Linked DNA regions of Homo sapiens: region 2 is linked to region 1. The links are contacts of gene promoters, found by promoter capture Hi-C in human tissues and cell types (Jung and others, 2019). All regions are on one chromosome and are shown on one strand. Each heading gives the region's core, a stretch centred on a gene start or on the middle of the fragment in contact. The rest is flanking DNA. Distances are from core to core; before and after follow the strand shown.

The links. Contacts are between HindIII fragments. The study calls those that stand out against the background at their distance.
Region 2: a contact is called between a fragment that was not itself captured here and the fragment with the promoter of PIEZO2 in region 1, in 4 of the 25 tissues and cell types used here (IMR-90 fibroblasts, lymphoblastoid cells, mesenchymal stem cells and 1 more).

What each region holds. Positions count from the first base shown.
Region 1 is chr18:11,148,100-11,153,352 of GRCh38, forward strand. PIEZO2 (piezo type mechanosensitive ion channel component 2) reads right to left here and starts at 1,470. Exons shown (of 56, transcript NM_001378183.1): 1 at 426-1,470. The coding sequence starts at 489. LOC124904249 (a long non-coding RNA gene) reads right to left here and starts at 417. Exons shown (of 2, transcript XR_007066288.1): 1 at 1-417. RefSeq lists enhancers at 1-12, 41-879 and silencers at 573-642, 653-832, 853-1,132, 1,373-1,822. The HindIII fragment of the contact is 6,242 bases long and covers 1-4,483 here.
Region 2 is chr18:10,600,087-10,605,390 of GRCh38, forward strand. It overlaps LOC124904248, which reads left to right and starts at 4,662. Exons shown (of 1, transcript XM_047437981.1): 1 at 4,662-5,304. The coding sequence starts at 4,761. The HindIII fragment of the contact is 6,596 bases long and covers 1-5,304 here.

The DNA.
Region 1 (5,253 bases), core at 220-2,719:
ATGGCCTCTGGGCCGTCTGGAGGCACAGCATGCTGTGCTTGCAGGGTCACTGGGGCGAGGGGCTCAGGTAGGAGCCTGACTGTACCTACGATGGGGACGCATCCGCCTTCCAGCCACAGCAATGGCCATCCTTAGTACACAAGTCAGTACTCCACGAAAGAAAATCCACGTGTAACTAAATTCAACATAAACAGTTTCCAGCACATGCCCGTCCCGAGCATCCTGTTAAGAGATACCCCGATCGCGCGCCCCAGAGTGGGAAGTGAGAGAGCCAGGCTGTGCACCAGGGACAGCGCGCGTCTGACGCCGCTGGCCTCCCGAATCGAACCCCAGAGCACCAGAGCCCTTCACTTTGTTAAGAAGTCCCCCACCCAGGCGCCCCCCTCGTCCTCCTCAAGTGCCCTCGGAAAGCGGACCAGACTCACCTACTGCCAGGCAGATGGGCAGCAGCAGCCTGAAGATGAGCCCGCACACCACTTCTGAGGCCATCGCGTCGGTCCGGCGAGTCGGAGCAGAGGGGCGAGGCTCGAGGGTCCCTAGGGGTGGTGGGACGCAAGGCCCATGCCCGTCTATGGCCTCTCGCCGCCGGCAGCTCGCAGCCACCCGAGCATCGCCTCGGCGCGGGCCGCGACGCTCTCCGCCCCGAGGGCACGCTCCCGGGGCTCTTGGCCGCCCCTCGCCCACCGGGCTCTGGGTAGCCCCTCACCAGGCTCTTGGCGGCCACCTAGCCCGGCGCCCGGCCCCCTGCGGCCGGCCCATTTAGTGTGAATCCTGGATCCGGCAGCGGCGGCGGCTTCTTCAGGGGTAGCTGATGCCGGGGCCTTGGAGAGGGACGCTTTGGGAGGGTCCTGGGAGGCGGCGCGGCGAGCAAAGGGGGCAAGAAGGGCGTGCTGTGCTCCCGCCTGGCTCCCGGGGCGTCGTTTGGGGGCGGCCGGGGAGTTTTCTACTTGGAAGCCCCTCTGAAGCCACCGCGTCTCCTTTGCCCGGCCTCGTCTCCGCTGCCCACGCAGGCTGCCGCGCTCTGGCCTCGGCCCCGGCTCTCGGAGCTGCCCGGCGGGCTCCGGGTCTCGCCCTCCAGCCCCCAGGCGGCCCGCGGCGGATCCCCGAGAGGCAGCGCAGCTCAGCCCCTGCGCCCCCCAGCTTCGGGCCGGAGAGACCGGGGTGGGAGCTGCCAGGCGCGCAGAACCATCCCCGCCACCACGGGGCTCGCCTTGTGGGTCCGGTGCGCGGGCGGCGCTGCGAGTCCCTCCCTCACTCGAAGGAACGGCGCGAGCGTGGGGAGAAATGGAGACCAGAGCGCATATCGGGTGAGTGGGTCTCCCACTCCCTCCTCCACCGCCTCAATTTAAAACTCAAGAGAAAAACCAGCGCCGTCCCGTCGCCCAGCGCGACCACCGCCTGCCGCCTTGCAGCCTCGCCCTCGCGGCGCAGCCGGGGCTCCCCGGCGGCGCGCGCTTCTCCACCTTCAATGAAACTTTCGAAGCCCTCACTCGGGGACGGGCGTGTCCCCCGGCCAATGGGATGGCGGCTCCGGGGCCTGCGCGCGCGGAGCCCGCCCCTGAGCGGCTGGGGAAGTGAGAGCCTTGCACCGGCGCGGAGGGCAAGCCCCCACCCGCGGCTCCCGCGCCTGGGAGAGACCCGGCCTGGCCTGCCAGTGGGCTGCGCGCCTTGGCTCGCCCTCCGCGGGCACTCCTGCCCCACTGGCTCCCGCAGCCCCGCGGCTCTGCGTGGTTCTGTCATTCCGGTGGTGCACCCTGGCATCCAGTCCACCCGGCCGGGCCCTGAGCTTGCCCAAACCCAGGGAACCGTTTAAGGTCCGAGGGAAACGCACAGGCCCGGCAGGAGAGAAGCCAGGGGCTTGGAGAGTCCTGTGCGACCCCGACTTCTGCTGGGTCCACAGGTGCACACTGGCATTAAGAAGAATAGAGCTGAATTCATCTACACCGTTGACCCTGCCCATATTTCACATAGCAAGAACTTGCCATTCTGAATAGACTCTGGGAAATCCCGGGTCTTCCCCAACAGATAATGCACCCACTTTGTGCATTTGGGGGAACTCTCCGTTTTCACCTCAGTTTTGCTCCTTGCTTGTCGTGGCTCTGGGGAAAGAGAGCGTTGGCACTGAGAATATTCTCCCTTTCTCCTAGTGCACTGCTTTTTGCCTGTTCTAGGCAAGATCTAGAGAAATCTGGCTCTAGCTGGGAGACTGCAGTGTGCCTGGGTCTTTTATTTAACTGTTATCCGAGAGTGGAGGAGATTTGCTAGAGCACAGTAGGGGTCTTTCCGGACATGGAGGAAGAGGCTGTTAGCATCTGTAGAGAGGACTGTTCAGGACTGGCATTCCATCAGGAGGACACACTGGGAAGGACCTGGCTTCCCTTCCGCACCTACATTCCTGGCTTGCATTAGTTGGAGGGGATAGAGCAGTGAGCTGATGAAAAACAGGCAAACCCCCGTCTTTTTAGCCATTTGAAACGCTTTTGTGGACATCCCTTTTTTGAGACAGGGTAAGCTTGTGGTTTGAGCTCAGGTGCCTTCACGAATTCTCTGAGAATTACAGAAAAACTATGAACCATTGCTTTTTGAATGAAGACTCAAGACAGTTGGCATATGGTGAAGACACCCTGAAACTTAAACCACCCATGTGCTCTGCCATCCTCAAGAAGCTTAGATAGCACCTAAACCCGGGCGTAGTCATGAGCTCAACAGCAGACCTACAGGAGACGATAGAACTTAAATTAGCATCCAGTCACCAAGAAATGCTATCAAGAAATGGTTTGTGTAGCCTGTTTGTAGAAGCCTGATATAAATCTACCACTAATTTTGATGTTCATAAGTCTGCCTTCACATCCATGCCCTCCCCACCTCACCCCATGTACGACTCATTCTTGGGAGCTAATAGGTGAAGGACTCCTGAATTTTAAATAATACTGTGTCATCACATGAATTCTGTATTCTCTGAATACTTTCTTATGTTCTTGATAGGCTTCCCATACTAACAACTGTCTAGACTTTTTCACAATAATTCTCTTTCAAAATAACATAAGCTGGGAGGCACAAGATTCCCAGCAGGTGGGTGGTCTTACCAAATAAACTTCGAGCTTTCTCTGCCACAGTGTGTACCAACTTGGCTGCTGGGGCGTTAGAGATTTTAACAACTACATCCCAGTTCTGAGACTTCCAACGTATGTACTCAAGGGGAAGTTTCAGCGGTCTAGACTACATCTGAAATAGGCTTCTCCATGCTGGCTACATGTTGCAGTCACCTGGGGAGCTTTTGAAAAACGCTCAGTCTCCACACTCCCTGAAATCCTGATTTAATTGGTCTGCGATGGGGCCCCCACACCTGTATTTTTCTTAAAGCTCTCAAGTGATTCTTAAGTATGCAGTCAGGGGTGAAGACCGCTGTCCTCATTTTCATATCAGACTCAGAAAATAGTCCATTGGCTTTCAAAACCAGCATCTCCAAACCTCATCCACCTTTCTGAAGCTGTATTTTCTTTCACAATGGACTTGACTTGAGCATACATATCCATAGCAGTGGCATTGTTTTTACAAGGGCTGTTTAACCCTCAATTTTCCCTGCTCTCATAGAAGCAGTATCTGGTGTCTAGACAGGTTAGTTTTTAAGGACTCACCAGCCCATGAGGGTATTGATCACTGTTCGGGAGCTCTGCTTGCCTGGCAAACTTTATTCCAAAGTTTGCCAGAATCTTGTCTAAAATTTGAAAGAGTATGTGAGTTTAAAAATGCTTTGGGGAGAAATCAAACATGTAAAATACTCATGGACATATTATTTTGATATTTCATGGGTACCTGATGTGTATAATCACCAGTTTACCCCGGTAATGAATTAAGCACCAGACACCCTATGCCTCTCTGCATCCACAATGACAAACAATGACTTCTTTTGATCATTATTGAGACTTTTAGTGCCTCAGCTTCTTCATCTGTAAGTTAAGGAAAGCAGTAAAACCTACCCAATATGGAGTCTACACAGATAGAGACAGTTTATAGAGTTCTTAGAGAAATGCCTGGTGCATAGTAATCATTCAATGAATATTGGCTGCTATTATTCCTATTATTGTTGTTATTATTGTTGTTGAAAAACAAGAACTAATTCTACATTTATCAAACAATTATGCTAAAGCACAGTGACCTGCAGTGAGACAGACAGCAATATGTTTATGCTCCCAGCAATATGTTTAAGAACTGATCAACATTTTCTTAAGTGTTCAAGGTTTTCTCCATAGTGTGTCATTTTTTGCCTTGTGTGCATTTCATCTCACCTGTTTAGATTTATCTTTTTTTTTTTTTTTTTGAGATGAAGTCACACTCTGTTGCCCAGGCTGGAGTGCAATGGCACAATCTCAGATCACTGCAACCTCCGCCTCCCAGGTTCAAGTGATTCTCTTGCCTCAGCCTCCCAGGTAGCTGAGAATACAGGCGCACACCACCACGCCTGGCTAATTTTTGTATTTTTAGTAGATACAGGGTTTTGCCATGTTGGCCAAGCTGGTCTCGAACTCCTGAACTCAGGTGATCCAGCCGCTTTAGCCTCCCAAAGTGCTGGGATTACCGGGGTGAACCACCGCACCTGGCCCTAGCTTTTATCTTTTCTAAATTTGGTTTACTGTTGCACTGATTGACAAAATCATTCAGAAACTCGATCTTTGTCCCAAACACTAATTTGTTTGTATCATGCTTACTAGGAAAACACAGATAATGTGTTTAGCCCTGTGTCATGTTTAGCTCTATGTCTGTTATTCTCTGGGATACTTTGTTAGCTTCCTTTGAAAGATCTCAGAGATGGATATTGTCCCAAATGGGAACTTTACAAAACAATGTCTCCCACAAGGAATATAAAGTTTGTCAACCTGGCATTTTCTTCCTTCAGTGAAATCTGCCAAAATCCATTGATGCCATCCAGCCTGTGGAGAATGTGGTACCTCTTACCAACTTAATTAAGGAGAATATCTTCTAGCATTGGTCACATGTGTTTTTCTTACATATATGTTAACTAAAAAATTTAAATATATATATATTTCTAGTTCTCATTTATAATTATCATTGTGTCATAAGGCACAATATTTATTTGGAAGTTATTTTTGTTAGAAGCCACAGAGATTTTGGCTCTTATTCTTAAGAAAACTTGGAAGCTGAATGGCTTTCTTCTTTTTGCTAATATATGCTGAGGTTGTACATTTTTAAAAAGCTATCAATTTAATGTTTACAGCAGAAGTATTTTCGAAG
Region 2 (5,304 bases), core at 872-3,371, 550 kb before region 1:
GGAATAAACTGAGTCCAGTACCTCTACATAGTTATGTTCAACTGGGCTGTCTGATACCAGGAGCAAGGTGGTGGGGTTTAGGGTGTTGCAAACTTCACTGGTTATGCGGGGATTTTCACAGAGCAAGCTTTGGCATCTAGTTAGTCTAGCATTCATTAGCTAATAATGTCCTTTGCTGTTTATTAAAGTCACCACAGCATGGGGGACTTAATGTTTAGGTTTTGCCTAAGAGTGAGCTTATCTGCTTCTTGTGCTAACAGGGCCATTGCTGCCAGAGTCCTTAGACATGGGGGCCAGCCTTTGGAAACCCCGTCTAGTTGTTTTGAGAGATAGGCCAGTGGCCTTGGCCAGGGCCCTACAGTCTGGGTTAAAACTCCAACTGCCATTTTTTCTCTTTGTGATACACAGGGTGTAAAGGGTTTTGTCAGGTCAGGTAGCCCCAGGGCTGGGGCCGACATGAGTTTTTTTTGTTTTGTTTTGTTTTGTTTAAATTCATGAAAAGCTTGTTGCTGTTGGTTGTAATAGATGTAATTTATCTAATCTAGATTTTTATTAACTGTCACATACTAAAATATTGACTTAAATCCTGTAGCTATTTGATTTCAAGCTTTAAATTGATCTGTTATTCCTTGTGGGGCTCCAATTGCATCTAAATAGATGTGAGAGTTGAAAGACCCATAAGGGGCTTCTCTCGCTTTACGATGTCTTATTTTTTTCTCCTTCTGGTTGATGAAATGCCAGGGTGAAAGGGATAGCCAGATGGACTAAACCACAAGTGCCACTCCAGTTATTCAGCAGAGTGTCCAGTAAAGGTTCACCACAATACCACCACACGTCCGCGCAGGGATGAACAAGGGCTGACTGATTGATAAGCTCTTGAAAATTCTTAAGCTCATTGCATCCCTTCAGGTCTCCAAGGAATGCTGTTTCCTGCCTGTCGTGAGAGACACAAAGTGAACTTAGTGTTGGGAGATGGAAGCTGGATGGCTCTCAGGGGCTGACCCGCAGGGTGCCGGACTTCGGGATATAGCAGAGAGAGCTTGGCATGACTTATTACTCCAGGCTGTAGAATCCTGGAAAAGAGCTACCATGCAGCCTACGCCTGGTCAACTGGAGGACCACCTTAGTGGAAACGAGACAATCTGGGCCTCTGGCCTGCCATGTGCACAAGAATAACAATTGCTTTTGTTTAACATGCAGAAGGAATATTTGATCAATTTTAACCAGGTATTTGCATCTTGGTATGCTGTCTTAATTGCCAAAGTTTGTTTTAAGTCTTTAACTTCTATGATCCTCTAGTAAAATGAATGTATGATTTTAGGAAATTACAAAAACCGGTTGGGGCAGTCCATCCTTGCTCTTTAGTGGTCCACAGAACATTGGACCAACTAAGGCATTAAAGCTCTACATTGGGGGTAAGACTCCTGGTTGGCACTGGGGTCTTTATTGAAATCTGCCCGGATTAAATGGTCCTAGTTTACTAATGCCCAGTCTGAGGAGAGTCAGGAGGGACAGAGGTACTTTTCTGAAGTAGAGAGCTGTCTTCGACTTGGCAAGTCCCCACAGGGTCTAACAAGACAAGCATTAAATGCAATAGTTCAAGGTGAAATTGACTTGGTTATGTTAATAACCAGATGGTCAGCAACAGAGCAAGGAAAGAAGAAAGAGTAATAGAATAGATGAAAAGAATTAAATTTTTCTCAGCTTTAGTTTGGTAGGGTTTTCCCCTGGGACTATGGCCCACGACTCTGGAAGGGGTGGCGCTTTCTTGACTCGGGTGTGGTGAGTCCACCCTTTTTTTTTCTGTACAAACAGCAGTCTTGGTGGTTAGCAGCCCAAGGTAGGGTCCTTCCCAGGCTGGCTCGAGTTTTTCTTCTTTCCACCCTTTGATAAGAACGTGATTTTCAGGCTGGTGCTGGTTTACCGGAAATTCTAGGGGTGGTACCTGTACTAAAAGACTTTTAGTTTTTGAGGGAAAGGAAAGTGGAAGATACACCGAGTATATAATTTCTAAGAAATTGACCTTTTGTTTTAAATGTGGGGACCTTGGCAGTGGACTTTATAGTCCTTGGTGCCTTCTTACTGAGAAATTTCCGTTAGCACCTATTTTTATTAGTTTTTAAACCAAAGAAAGGCAAATACCACTTTACATTTAGCAATGCTATTTGTATGATTTTTATACCAGATAAGCTAAATTTTACCTTTATATTAGTGTGTTATTAATGTTAAACCTAATTTTAATAAAACCTTGTAGACATATTTATCCAATTTTTAATGTTTGACCATAAGGTAAGATTTTATAGACTCTTTTTAACCTTTTATAATTTTTGCTAAAGAGCAGGTTGGTGCTTTAAGAAAAATCTGCTATGCTTTTATTTTAATGTCCAGTTTACAGCAAAACTGGATGATACCTCTAACTTTAGCCAATGTTTACACACAGAATTTTCTTTTCAGTGTACATTTTAAAACTTGATTAAACCTTTAAAACAAAGTATACACATTTTTAACCTTCTAATATAGGTAAAAATTTATATTCTTATGCCTCCTTATAATTCTTTTACCAAAGGTATATTTTAATTTCCTTATACACCTTGCACATAAACTGTTTTTTCTTAGCTACTTGTATATATCTCTCTTTCTCTCTTTGACTTTGTCTCTCTCTCTTTGACTTTCCTTTTGCCTCTGTCTCTTCCTCTGTTTATCTGCTTCTCTCTCTCTCCTCTCTGCCTCTCTCTCTCTCCTCTCTCTCTCCTTTCTGCCTCTCTCTCTCTCCTCTCTGTGTCTCTCTCTCTGCCTCGCTTATGCTGCTGTTCTCTCAACCACTGTGGAGAGATCTAAAACCAGCTGTAACCAAGCGTCTATGTATGGGAACTGATCTGGGTGCCCTGGCTTACAGGTTACCTTGTGCCACACCTTTGAAACAAGGGACCTGTCCAGGCTTCCTTCTGATGGCCAACCCACCTCTAATGCTGGTCAGTCTATTTTACACAAAGTTTTAAGTTTTCCTGGTGTCATAGTACTCCATAGTCTCCCTTAAATCCTTTTTTGAAATTTTTCAACATGGTTCCTAGTAGGATGGGCTTATTTGTGCCTGACCCATGCTTCTTCAAGACAAAACACAACACTCACACCACACGCACACCACAAAACAAAGAACAGGTAAAAAGGGCACACACACACTTTTGCAGTTTACACCAAACCAAAATCAGAGTATCCAGAAATCTAAGCCAGGTCAAAACCAAAACCAAAGTATCAAGCAATCCAAGTCAAGTCAAAAACAAAAACCAAAGTGCCAATAAAGGCACACTGTGGGTGATCAGGCCACGCTTCCACTCAAATGGAGTAGGCAGGTTTGCAGGTTCCAAAGACTAGTCTTACCAAGTTTCAGATGTCTGCACTGCAAGTACCAGTTCCTTCCCGGTGTTCAGCCACTGCATTGATTCTCCACGGGGGCCTGCTACACACTGCTCTGGCGAGGCGTCCCACTGGGGCAATTGCCTGCCCAGGATGCTCTCATGATCCACGTCAGAGAGCGGAGGGCTGGTCGGAGTCCCCCGCAGGGATGTTCCACAGGGCAGGCTTAAGCCACCTAAGGAGCTGCTTCAACCATCCGCCAATCACCTCGCTTCCTGGTCAGGGAACCAAGAAATGTAGCAGGACGAGTAGCAGACAAAACTCCTCAGACACCAAGTTAAAGAAGGAAGGGCTTTATTCGGCCGGGAGCATTGGCAAGACTCCTATCTCAAGAGCCGAGCTCCCCAAGTAAGCAATTCCTGTCCCTTTTAAGGGCTCACAACTCTAAGGGGGTCCGCATGAGAGGGTCGTGATCGATTGAGCAAGCAGGGGGTACGTGACTGGGGGCTGCATGCACCGGTAATTAGAACGGAACACAACAGGACAGAGATTTTCACAGTGCTTTTCTACACAATCTCTGTAATCTATAGATAACATAACCGATTAGGTCAGGGGTCTATCTTTAACTACCAGGGCTGGGCTGTGTGTGGTGCTGGGCTGTCTGCTTGTGAATTTCATTTCTGCCTTTTAGTTTTTACTTCTTCTTTCTTTGGAGGCAGAAATTGGGCATAAGACAATATGAGGGGTGGTCTCCTCCCTTACTATCAAAGCAGGAGTCAGCAGAGGGGGCAGAAGCACTAAGTTGCTGCAACAACACCTGAGAGTGCAGACAGGAGGGGCCCAGTCCCCACCCCCACCTGAGAGTGCAGACAGGAGGGGCCCACCCCCAACCCCCGCCTGAGAGTGCAGAGAGGAGAGACTCACTTCCTCTACCCCCACCTGACTCCCAGTGTCGAGTGCCCTGGGGAGAGCTGCACCCACGGACATCCTGCAGGGTAGGCCAGCACCAAAACCCAGTCTCTTGTTGCATTTTATTCTAAGCAGTCAGGAGAAACCAAGCCGATTCTCAAGAGATGATAACCAATAGAACCCAAGTGTTTGGGATTTGGTGTGGAAGAGGCAGAAAATAGCAGGTCCCGAGGGAAAGATAATGTTTGAGAAGCAAAGCAAGAAAAGATGATGACAAACACAACACTCAAAGGCCCTAGACATAATCACTTTTTTTTTACTGTCATGAACATTTAAACATAACACATTTTCTTTTTTTCTAATTTCATCTCCCTCTTCCTTCCCTGGTCTCCAAAGCTGCAGGCCTGAGTGGACTGCTCCCGGGAAGCCACTTTCATGGCGTCCCCTCTCAAGGGTGCCCATCTACCTGGAGCGTCATCATCGTCACTGCTGGAGTCATGTCTCCTGTTGCCAATCCAAGCTCTGGAGACACAAGTACCACAAGAAAGGTGTTACCCAGAGGCACTTACCCATCCTCCCTGCTGCAGGGGAGGCCACACCAGCTGCCACAGCAACTCCCTGCTCCGTCCTCTGCTTTCTCAGAACTAACCTGGGCTCTCTGGAATCAGAGACCTTCAACAAGTCACTGCTCACATTTGCAAACGTTCACATCAAGAGAGGACCCCCTTTCCACGTGCCACTCCCCTCTCTTCCGGATCATTGCAGCTCTCCCTACCAGCCTTATCAATGTGGGGCTCCAACCCTACAGGTCGGTGATTCACAAACACACTGTCCCAGGTTGGAGCCACTGCCACGAGCCTGTTCTGCACAGACGGGAATATTCCCTCTGCCTTGTGAGCACAGGGCTATCGGGCACTGGAAATATGCCTGGTGTGATGAGGTACTGGAGATTACATTTGAAAATTAATTTAAAATACAGATGCACGTGGTTAATGACTGTGGCACCAGGGAGCCCAGAACTGAGATTCAGAGATGAGGGAG